3 separate regions of the Homo sapiens genome follow, and all the other regions are linked to region 2. The links are contacts of gene promoters, found by promoter capture Hi-C in blood cells and fetal thymus (Javierre and others, 2016). All regions are on one chromosome and are shown on one strand. Each heading gives the region's core, a stretch centred on a gene start or on the middle of the fragment in contact. The rest is flanking DNA. Distances are from core to core; before and after follow the strand shown. Region 1 overlaps MYH13 (myosin heavy chain 13). Region 2 holds the start of DHRS7C (dehydrogenase/reductase 7C). Region 3 overlaps MYHAS (myosin heavy chain gene cluster antisense RNA).

Region 1 (3,952 bases), core at 823-3,322, 520 kb before region 2:
GAAGAAGATGGAGGGAGACCTTAATGAGATGGAGATTCAGCTGGGCCACTCCAACCGCCAGATGGCAGAGACCCAGAAGCATCTGCGCACGGTCCAGGGCCAGCTCAAGGTGAGCACGGTGGCCGCCTCTGCGTACCTGGACGGGCCCCAGCCTGCCAGGCGGCTCTGGCCTCACTCTGGGTCTCCCCTGCAGGACTCCCAGCTGCATCTCGATGACGCCCTGAGGAGCAATGAGGACCTCAAGGAGCAGCTGGCCATCGTGGAGCGCAGGAATGGCCTCCTGCTGGAGGAGCTGGAGGAAATGAAGGTGGCCCTGGAACAGACGGAGCGGACCCGCAGGCTGTCAGAGCAGGAGCTGCTGGACGCCAGCGACCGCGTGCAGCTCCTGCACTCCCAGGTGCGTCGGCCCTCACTCCTCCGCTGAAGGTCCACCCTGGGGCAGATAGCGCCTCCTGCACCGTGCAGCTGCTTCCGCTATCCCTCCACTCAGGGCCCACGCCGTGGGAAGGAGCACCCGGTTTCTCCCAGACTAGTGGTCAAGACAAATTTTCTTTTAAGCTTGCTTCTTGGAATAACTGACTCTTGATTGACAGATTTCTGAGCTTTCTCTCATCCAAACATTAAACATCTTGCACGTTGTGGGGAAATCAGAGCAACGAAGGATTAATTATTACGTAAGGCACCTGGAAGTACTATTTAAGTGGAAACCTTAGAATATTAAGATTTTATTTCAAAATAATTATTTTTGACCCGGCTCAGCGCCACACCTATAATCCCAGCACTTTGGGAGGCCAAGGTGGGAGGTTTGCTTTAGCCCAGGAGTTGAAGCTGCAATGAACTATGATCATGCCACTGCACTCCAGCCTGGGCAACAGAGGGAGACCCTGCCAAAAAAATAAACAAACAAACAACAACAACAAAAACACAAAATAATTATTTTTATAAAAGTTTTTAAAACTCCTTTGTTTAAAAAAATAGAAAAAACAAGTAAATACATGGAAGAAAAAAGTCAAGCATATTATTAACATTCTGGGGTCTCTCATTCTTAGGCCCATTGTGAATTATATAAATATTATATTTTTGCCTCTAATCCCAGGAATTTGGGATTGTTTGATCTCAGGAGTCTGAGACCAGCGTGGGCAATATGGCAAAACCTTGTCTCTACAAAAAAAAAAAAAAAAAAAAAAGTTTTAATTAAAAATAAATACATATATATATAGTCAAAGTATGAGCAATCTTTTGCAACCTCTTTTTTGAATTTAACAATCATGAACATATTTTGACATCTTTTTTTTTTTTTTTTGAGACAGAGCAGAGTCTCTTTCTGTCGCCAGGCTGGAGTGCAGTGGTGCGATCTCAGTTCACTGCAATCTCTGCCTCCTAGGTTCAAGCGATTCTCCTGCCTCAGCCTCCTGAGTAGCTGGGATTACAGGTGCTTGTCACCACACCCAGCTAATTTTTGTATTTTTGTAGAGACGGGGTTTCACCATGTTGGCCAGGATTGTCTCGATCTCCTGACTTCAGGTGATCCGCCCGCCTCAGCCTCCCAAAGCTCTGGGATTACAGGCATGAGCCACTGTGCCCAGCTTCGACATCTTTAAATAGTCTTCTATATGATTTTTAATGACAGAAAAGTAGGCTATTCTACTTGTATATTATGGCCCTTTCATTTAATCAGTCTTCTGTGGTTATTTTAGATTGTTCTCAATAAAAATTTTACTTTTAGAAAGACTATTTTGATGAACTTCCTCATAACTAAATTTTCATATACTTCTATGATTACTATAATCTTAATATTTCTAGAAGTAAATAAATTTCTAAAAATGAAATTTCAAGGTCCAAACAGCAAAAGTATTTGTAATATAAATTGTTCTTTAACAAGGTTGTCCCAATTTTTATTTCCACTGGGGAAACGTGTGAGAGTTCTCTTCTATAAATTCTCAAATACTCTAGCTCTTATTTTAAAAATCTTCACCAATTTTATTGCTGAAACATACCTCACTGAGTTTTTAGTATTTTTTTTATTGCTAATGAGGTGGAACATTTTATCACATTTGTTGGCCATTTGAATTTCTTCTAGTATTTTACCCATTTGTAGTTTTTGCCCTTTTTTTAATTGATTTGCCTTATTTGTATGTTAAGAAAGGGAATATTTTCTTCTGTAATGTACATTGCAAATGTTTTCCAGTTTGTCGTCACCCCTTACAATTCTATTTATGGCATATTTTGATTATTTAAATTATTTTTCATTTCATATAGTATGTCTATCATCATTTCCTTGTTCCAAGACTTTTTACTGAATAATCTATCCATCCTCAAATATTTGAAATTCTACTTTTATCATTTACTGAATTCTTTCATGTACAATTCTTGGGTCTGTTTCAGGACTTTCTGTTCAGTTAAGAATAAAGAAAGAATGTACAGTACTGTACCCAGCAGGTCACCCATGTGAAAAATAAGAAATGGAACAGGATCACAATTTACTTCCCTCCCCAGCCAACCCTCTCCCAATTTTTTTAAGCGCCCCAATAGAACCCACACCCCTGATATCTAATTCTTCTTGTAGAACACAAGCCTGATAAATACCAAGAAAAAACTGGAGGCTGACATAGCTCAGTGCCAGGCAGAGGTGGAGAACTCGATCCAGGAGTCCAGGAACGCAGAGGAGAAGGCCAAGAAGGCCATCACGGATGTGAGCTCTGTTCTTCCTTTTCAGAGATGGGGTTTGGAACTGAGAAAGTGGGGCCTCTGAGCCAGGGTGTGGCAAGTATGTTTCATCTCTTATGACAACAATCGGTTAGTGGTGGCTTCCCAGACAGATGTAATGAGGTACAGTCTCAGCAGTGGCAAAGTGGGAGGGGAGGCTGTGGGGAATCAGCAATGACTGGCCCCAGTCAGACAGGGGAGGCTCAGCACCATGATCCCAGCCTTCGCCTCTTCTGCAAGCTCTGGGTAGGGATGGGCGGACAGGGCCTCTGATGTGTCCTGTGAACTTAACCAGGCTGCCATGATGGCTGAGGAGCTAAAGAAGGAACAGGACACCAGCGCCCACCTGGAGCGGATGAAGAAGAACCTGGAGCAGACGGTGAAGGACCTGCAGCACCGTCTAGATGAGGCTGAACAACTGGCGCTGAAGGGCGGGAAGAAGCAGATCCAGAAACTGGAGAACCGGGTAGAGTTTTTGAGAGGACTGTTACTCTGAAAGTGACAGCCTCGGACAGAACCACAGTCCAGAAACTGAGATGGTGGGAAAAGGCCACTGAATGAATAGATTGCAAATTCAGTTTCAGGACTGCTTGAAAAATTCCCTGTGAGCTTCATTTCTCACCTCTTTCTGTTTCACCTGTTCCTATGCCCCAAAACACACACACACACACACACACACACACACACACACACACACACACACATCTATTTTGGTATGCTCACACCTCAGTAAATGTAATATAATGATGTATGTTAATGTTCACATTCCATTTGCTATGCAGATTCAGATGCACGCACATACATGGAAAAAACTATTAACATATACTCTACAGTCATAAAATTACTCATTTTGATGCATTTACATTTTGGACCAAGCTTCACTTTGATCAACACAGCCCATCCTACATAAAATCTGCAGTTTCCGTTTTCTCCCAATCTCAGGTTTCCTTCCCTCCCCAGCTTTTCTCATCTGTCAGTGCAGGCTGCAATTCTGGCACAGGTATGTCTCTTGCTCCAGCCCCAAAAGAGGGCGATCGGGGCTTCTTCCTTTAGCTTGATGCACCAGCAAAGTTCAACCCCCCGACACCTGGACATCCCTGCTCTTTCTTTATCTGGGAGCGTATCCTGCAGTTATTATTCAGTTTCTTTGCTGACTGTTCCCTTTGTTTCCTGTCTCCCTTGCTTTTCCTTTTAGACCCATGTGGTTTATTTCAATCATTTTAAAATGGGCTCCACTAGTGGTTGA
Region 2 (4,018 bases), core at 571-3,070:
TGTCTAGTGTTATTCAACCAAGTTCTGAGGAACTTGTAGGCTAAAAACTTGGAGCATCTTTTAGGCTTGTCGAGACCATCATCCAAATAGCCAGGTAGGCAGATGCTTTCAAAGCATCAAGTCCCGGGGGTTTGGATGAGTCAGGAACCATCTTGCAGGGTTGGCTCATGACAGAGCCACTGACAGTAAGTCTGAGGGAGAGCAGAAACCACACAATAGTCTTCACACAGAGGTGCCCGTCAATGTCACCAATGACTCCACATCACTAAAGCTGACAGGCACTTCTCAGACCCTACGTTACTTGACCAATCAGCAGCATTGAACACAGATAATAATTTATTTAAAAAAAACTTGGCCAGGCACGGTGGCTCATGCCTATAATTCCAGCACTTTGGGAGGCCGAGGTGGCCGGATCACAAGGTCAGGAGATTGAGACCATCCTGGCCAATATGGTGAAACCTCGTCTCTACTAAAATACAAAAATTAGCCGGGCGTGGTGGTGGGGGCTTGTAGTCCCAGGTACTCGGCGCGGCTGAGGCAGGGGAATTGCTTGAACCCAGGAGGTGGAGGTTGCGGTGAGCCGAGATCGTGCCACTGCACCTCAGCCTAGTGACAGAGCAAGACTGTCTCAAAAAAAAAAAAAAAAAGAAAAACTTTACACAAGAGGTTGTTTGAGCAAAGAAAATACACATACAGGTAAAACTGTATATACGCTTTTAAAAGTTAGGAAGTAGCTACCCTCAGGGCTGGAGAGAGACATGATGAGGCATGTTGGCAATGTTCTGTTTCTTGATCTGCATGCTGGTCACGTGAATATATTCAGTCTATGAAGATTCATCAAGCTCTACATTTACGTGTGTGTTTCTAATATGTACATTAAGTGTCAATAAAATTCTGGGACTTTTTTAATCTTCCTGGTTATTTCTAATTTCCAAGAAAGAAATACAGTCTTCTTTACCCCCCCCACATACGCACACACACACACACACACACGTGCACACACACAGGTGCGCACACACACACGCACGCACACACGCACACACACATGCACACACACACATGCGCGCACACACACACATGCACACACACTGCTCTTAGTCCTACTCCTGATTGGCTCAATGCTGTTTACCGCACAAATTAGGACCTGATTGTGATTGGCCTTCTGGTTTGGGATGGCTCCAGTACTTGAACTGGGTTTCTGTCTCTCCAGTTCTAATCCTACTGAGTTTCCTTATGTAATGAAAATATTTCACATTTGGGATAAATTCTTAGTATCCTCAACCGCTAAAGATAACAGTAGTTACCTTCCTACGGCCCGGGATCTATGCTAGGCCCACACTGTGCAGTATGGTTTGTCCTCCCATTGGTCCTGCCCATTTTACAGACAGGGAAGCTAAGGCTCAGAGAGGTGAGAAACACTCTCAAGAGTGTGCTCTTTCTGATATTTCCTGTCACACCTCCCAGTGGCTCTTTCTGCAAAAGGCTTCATTCTGTTTAGCAGTTTTCTATGCTTTTCATCTCCAATTAGAAAGCAAAGGCCAGATGGTCTTCTGCCACATGCATCCAAACTACCTGGAAGCTACCTGATTACGAGGGTTACCGGAAGTGAGGGCAAGGATGTTTGTGCTGAAAATCCCAGGTTTGGATCCCTCGTGCTCAGTCCCAAACTGCAGAGGAAACCTCTAATACTCAGGCAAGCCAGGAGAGCTTTGGCAAGAGCCCTGAAATCAGACCCGGCCAGCATGTGTTCCTGAATATCAGAATAGACACTATATTTACCCTGACAGCCTTTTAGTGCAACTGAAAGCTATAAATAACCATTAGGGCCCAAGCAAGTGGCCTTAACACATGGATTTTCTTCCAAAAATGCAGACCCATTTTAATTAAGTTTGTAATTAACCACTGGGGAGGGCAGGCCCCCTGGATTCGGTCTGCTTTCGGAGACACTGTGAGTAACTTCCTATTTGTTGAACATTTGGGGATTAGCACGCCCACTGGGTGTTCAGCTTGGAGGCTTGCACAGAGCTGAGCTCCCTGCAGCCTTGGGCCTCCCCCTGCCCTGGGAGTCCTGATCAGCGTCTCTTTGCAAAGCCAATCCCCTTTTACTCCGTTGTCCCCCAGAACAAGATGGGAGTCATGGCCATGCTGATGCTCCCCCTGCTGCTGCTGGGAATCAGCGGCCTCCTCTTCATTTACCAAGAGGTGTCCAGGCTGTGGTCAAAGTCAGCTGTGCAGAACAAAGTGGTGGTGATCACCGATGCCATCTCAGGACTGGGCAAGGGTAAGCTGGCTTTGCTCCCACCTGTGCCCATTTCTGCCCCCAGGGACTGGCAGGATGGCAGGGTGGCAGGGCGGCAGGGCGCTGTGTGGGCAAACCTGCTCGGTGGGAGGGGATCGATCCTGTGTTCTCTCCCAGCTTCTATCATTAACCAGCAAGTTTCCCATCTTTTGGAGGCTGCAGATTCCTGATAAATGAGGGTGGTGGAATATCTAGGGTTGCAAACTCACAGCCTAAGGGCTAAAACTGGTCTGCAGATGTGATTTGTTTTGGCTTCATGGGGTTTCCAGAAATTTTGAAAATTCAAAGCCTTTAGCTGGGGCAATGTACTGGTTGTGAGCCCAGACTCAGGAGCTGGGTTCAGTTCCTGGCTCCAGCAATGACTAGCTGGTTACTTCACTTCTCTGCCTTAAACTTCTCATCTGTAAGGCGAGGATAACAGCAGTCTCTACCTCATGCTGCCATTGTGAGGAATAAACGAGTTCATAGATGGATAGCACTTAGAACAGTACCTGGAGCTACAGTGGATATCACTCAAGGGTTAGTAATGATGATCATGAACACATATAGGCAAAACATGCCCACGCTAGTGGGCCACACACCCCACCCATCCCTATTGCATCACACTTGGCCTGATTCTTTCAATCATTACACTTTCTGGCATTGAAGGCATTTGCATTTGCAACTCCTGAATTATATCACCTCAGAGAGGCCCTTCTGCTGGTGACATCTATGACATGAGGGGCCGTAATTGTCCTTAAGTTTGCAAGATTCTGACTCTATCCTTCCAGACAATGGTAGTACAACTTTATATGTTACATAGTTAGTGCAACTTTTGCTGTTGTTTTTATTATTTTTAATAGAGCATAGATCCCACACAGCCAAACATTCATTAGTAACTCAGTAAGTGTCCACTGAGTCCACTATGTCCTGAGCATTGCCCCGAGAGTCCCTCTGGGGGGCTGGGCACTTACTCTCATAGTGCTGCCATCGTGAGAACGTTTGTAACCTCCCTGAGAATTTTCTCAGAGCCTGCTGCTTAGCCTCTTCGGCATCCCAATGGGAGCCAATCTGCACGCTTTGAGGATGGCTTAGTTTTCAGTGGGTGATCGACCCAGGTGCATCTTGTTAAGATAAAAAACAAAGCATAAGGCAGATAGACTAGGCTCTCTAAGTGGCCCCTAGATGAGTCTCACACACAATTCCCAGAGAGGATATCCTGTATCAAAAGGGAGCGAGGTACACAAACTCAAACTCCTTCTTCAAGGGCAAGCCAGGGCACACACATCTGTCAATCAGACCAGACAAAAGACAACAGGGAGTGTGCCGCCCTGGAGAGCTGGAAAAGAGATGCCCACCTAAAGCTATTCAGAACAGAAGGCTTTGCGAAAAATTTGCTCTCCAAATAGCGCACCTTTGTCTGGCATTGCACCAGGCTGCTAACATGCGATCCCTGATACGGCCTCTACCCTGGAGCCTGTCCTGACACCTTAATTGCTCCTTCCTCTTGAATGGTCCTTGTGGACCAGCTTCTTAACTGGCCCCTTGTAAGTGCACACCACATTAGTGTATTTCTCATGCTGTATCTGTGTGTTTCTCAGTGGGTCCACTAGATACAGGCTTCCTGGTGCTGGAGCCTGTGTTTTGTTCACCCAGGCAGCCTCAGCACCTAGCTCAATGCTTGGTTGACATCCTCAGAAAATGTGTATTTAATGAATAACCTCTAAAAGTGACATGTGA
Region 3 (3,948 bases), core at 962-3,461, 640 kb before region 2:
ATGTATAAAAATATATGGTCAAACTATGTGCTGTCTACAGAAGCCACAAATATAAGTAAAAAGATGAAAAAATACATTATCTTGCAAACAGGAACCATAATAAAATGGAATGGCTATACTGATAGGAGACAAAACAGACTTAAAAAAAAGTTACCAGAGATAAGGAGAAACATTTTATAATGAAAAAATAATAAAAGGATAAGCCCATCAGGAAGACATAATACTTATACATATATTTGCGCCTAATAGCAGAGGCACCAAAACATATGAATCAAAAACTGACAGAAATAAAGGGAGAAACTGACAATTCCACAATAATGATTGAAGATGTCAATAACCCACTTTCAATAATGGATGTAACAATTAATGAAGATCAATAAGAAAAAAAGGAAGACTTGAAAAACACTATAAACCAAATAGACCTAACAGATATCTATAGAACACACCACCCAGTAACAACAGAATATACATCCTTCTCAAGTTCAAATGTAACATTCTCCAGGACAGACCACATGCTAGGCTATAAAACAAACTTCAGTAAACTTAGAAGGATAGGCATGATACAAAGTATGTTCTCTGACCACAATGGAATGAAATTAGAAATCAATACTAGGAAAAAAATTGAGACAATCACAGATTTGTGGAAATTAAACAACACACTCCTAAATAATCATGTGTCAAAGAAAAAATCGAAAGGGAAACCAGAAAGTACTCTGAGATGAATGAACATGAAGATACAATATACAATATACAAAAACATATGGGATGCAGCTAAAGCAGTGCTTAGACAGAACTTTACAGTTGTAAATGTCTATATAAAGAGAGAAGAAAGAGCTCAAATAATAACCTAATTTTCCACCTAAGGCACAGCAGGTGGGAAAAACAAATGAAATCTAAAGCAAGTAGAAGAAAGGACATAATAGAGGCTAGAGGAGAAATTAATGAAATCGAGAATAGAAAAACAATATAGAAAATTATAGTCCAATATCCCTAATAGATGCAAAAATCCTTAACAAAATTTTGGCAAGTCAAATCCAACAACGTCTAACAATACAATCGTGTGTTGCTTACCAATGGGGATATGTTCTGAAATATGCATCATTAGACAATTTCCTCATTGTACAAATATCACAGAGTGTACTTACACAAACCTAGACAGTATAGCCTACTACACACCTGGGCTATGTGGTATAGCCTACTGCTCCTAGACTACAAACCTGGACAGTATGTTGCCGTACAGAATACTGTAGGTAACTGTAGCAGAATGGTATTTGTGTATCTAAACATATCTAAATATAGAAAAGGTACAGGAAAAATACAGTATTATAATCTTATGGGACCACCATAATACATGCAGTCCGCTGTCAACCAAAATGTCATTATGCAGTGCCTACTATATATGAAAACAATATTAACAACAACAATAATAATAATAAATCATGACCAAATGGAATTTATCACAGGAATGCAAGGTAGGTTTAATATTCAAAAATCAGGTAATTCATAACATTCACAGAATAAAAAAGAAAATCATATAACTATCTCAACAGATGAAGTAAAGCATTTGACAATATCCAACACCCATCCATGAAAAAAAAACCTCTCAGCAAACAAGCAATAAAAGAAAACTTTCTCAATCTAGTAAGAGGCACCTACAAATAAAGCACAGCTAAGATATCTTGCTTAATAATAAAACAGTGAACACTTTCTGTCAAAAAATGGGACTAAAAGAGAGAGGAGAGAGAGAGACACCATGTTCTTGGACTGAAGTCTCAATATTGTAAATCTGTCAGTTTTCCACAAATTGATCTATAGTTTTAGTGTAACCCTAATCAAAATCCTATCAAGCTTTTTTTTTTGGTAGAAGTTGGCAGTTTGATATTAAAATGCATATAAGTATATAAAGTACCTACAGTAGCCAAAGAAGTCTTAAAAAGTAAGTAGTATAAAATTGGAGAACTTACTCTACAGACTTTAAAATTTATTACAAAGCTACAGTAATTAAGATAGTGTGGTATTAGTGTAAGGGTAGAAGAATACTTGAATGGAACAGAATAGAGTAGAATGGAGAGTCTGGAAATAGATCCAATATGTATATAGTGGACTTTTTACTAAGTTGCTAATGCAATTCAATGTGGAAAGAAAAGTCTCTGCAACAAATGATGATGGATCAATTAGACATCTGTATGGAAAAAAATAATAACGCATACACAACAATTAATTCAAGGTAGACAACAGATTTAAATGTAAATACTAAAATTATACATCTCCTAGAAGAAAATATAGGAGAGTATCTTTGTAATCTCGTGCAAAATTTCTTAAACAGAACACAGCAAGCACTAAATATGAAAGAAAAAATGATAAAACTGGTCCTCTTCAAAGTTAAAGCTACTGCTCATCAAAGTACTGTTAAGAACACAAAAAGGCAAGCCACCTACTAAAAAAAATATATGCAATACATATACTGAAAAAATGACTTATAAAGAACACAAACAAAACAATATTCTTTAAAAATAATCCAACAAAAATGGGCAAAACACAGACATTTCATCAAGAGAATATATGAAAGCTTAATAACAAAACTAAAAGTTGCTCAATATCATTGTCTAGGGACATACATTTTAAAACCACAAAGAGATTCCACTACAAACCAACAAGAATGGCTAAATTTATAAAGACTAATGACACTGAGCAACCACATTGCTCATATATCACTAGCGAGGATGTAAAACAGTACAGTTACTAGACACCTACCTCTTGATCCAACAATTCCACTCCTTGTTATTTAACTGAAAGAAATGAAAGATATGTCTATAAAAAGATAAAAAATATATACCAGCAAGAGAACAGATGAATAAAATATGGTACATCCTCACAACGGAGTACTACTCCCCAATAAAAAGAAATGAACTACTGATACATGCAAGAATGTGGATGAATCTAAATAACATTCCTCTTTGGCATGAGTCATATGAAAGGTCAGTTGTTTCCTTTGGTTGAAGAGAATATAATTACAGAGTTTTAGAAAAGGTAGAGATGTCTTAAAGTGGCTGTAATTCATCTGCTTTTACTCACTGCAGAGAGAAAATAGAGGAACTCTTAGGGCAGAGGAAATCTTAGGAATTGTAAGCTAATTTCTGGCAAGGACTCTTAGAGCAGAAGGGTCATTGGATACGGTAACTTAATGTTCACCCTCGGCTTAATTGTAAGTGGATACTAGCGAAGAAGAGCAAGGACAAGGGATGTAAGCCAGACCCTTGGAAGGGCCTTTACTCTAAGTTAAAATAAATGAGTTGTCACACAAGAATGGTAGAAGAGATATCTGTACATTACAGAAGGGTTGAAATATACCAATAATTAGGCTTTAGCAAAATATATCTCCCAGTTTAGTATTCTTATATATGTTACCTATAAAAACTCTTTACTTCATTGTTTATTGTTATTTTAAATAAGATTTTCAGTTTTCAGTATATCTCAAAGAGAACCAGTGGAAAATGCATTATGCTGATCCAAATCTTAGATTAAGGCGAGTTTCAAGTTTCAACCACTGACCACATCATCGGAGCACCACCACTTAACAGGTGGCCACTTAATTAACTTACAAGTAACTGAATTGACAGTTGTTTCCAAAATTTTGCTATTAGAAGAAATGTTAAATGTACACTCTTGAGCATCCTTCCTATTTCAGTGTGCTTCTGCAGGAAAGAAAGTGAGAAGTGAAATCACTGCAATTTTAAATTTCAAAAGATATAACAAATTGCCCTGGAAATTTACACCTTTACTCACAACATATTACATTCACCTCTCTGCACCACCATTTGCTACCATTATTATTTTTTTTTTGCCAACTTGATGGGTAAAATACACTAGCTCTTTGTTATTTTATTTTGTACCTCTTGAGATTGAGCATGTTTTCATGTTTATTAGCCATATGTATTGCCTCTTCCA

Evidence for each region. The method cuts DNA at HindIII sites, captures the fragments that hold promoters and counts their contacts. A CHiCAGO score of 5 or more calls a contact.
Region 1: a contact is called between a fragment that was not itself captured here and the fragment with the promoter of DHRS7C in region 2, in 1 of 17 cell types (neutrophils). The highest score is 5.0, in neutrophils.
Region 3: a contact is called between a fragment that was not itself captured here and the fragment with the promoter of DHRS7C in region 2, in 1 of 17 cell types (monocytes). The highest score is 5.0, in monocytes.

Annotation. Positions count from the first base shown.
Region 1 is chr17:10,305,679-10,309,630 of GRCh38, reverse strand. It overlaps MYH13 (myosin heavy chain 13), which reads left to right. Exons shown (of 41, transcript NM_003802.3): 34 at 1-109; 35 at 194-397; 36 at 2,567-2,692; 37 at 3,002-3,172. All of the region lies in intron 1 of LOC107985004 (a long non-coding RNA gene), which reads right to left. Among named protein-coding and RNA genes, the nearest start is that of MYH13, 65 kb to the left of the region's middle. RefSeq lists an enhancer at 1-213. The HindIII fragment of the contact is 3,024 bases long and covers 561-3,584 here.
Region 2 is chr17:9,789,394-9,793,411 of GRCh38, reverse strand. It overlaps DHRS7C (dehydrogenase/reductase 7C), which reads left to right and starts at 1,820. Exons shown (of 6, transcript NM_001105571.3): 1 at 1,820-2,281. The coding sequence starts at 2,128. The HindIII fragment of the contact is 16,411 bases long and covers 1-4,018 here.
Region 3 is chr17:10,428,582-10,432,529 of GRCh38, reverse strand. All of the region lies in intron 2 of MYHAS (myosin heavy chain gene cluster antisense RNA), which reads right to left. Among named protein-coding and RNA genes, the nearest start is that of MYH8, 8.6 kb to the right of the region's middle. The HindIII fragment of the contact is 721 bases long and covers 1,851-2,571 here.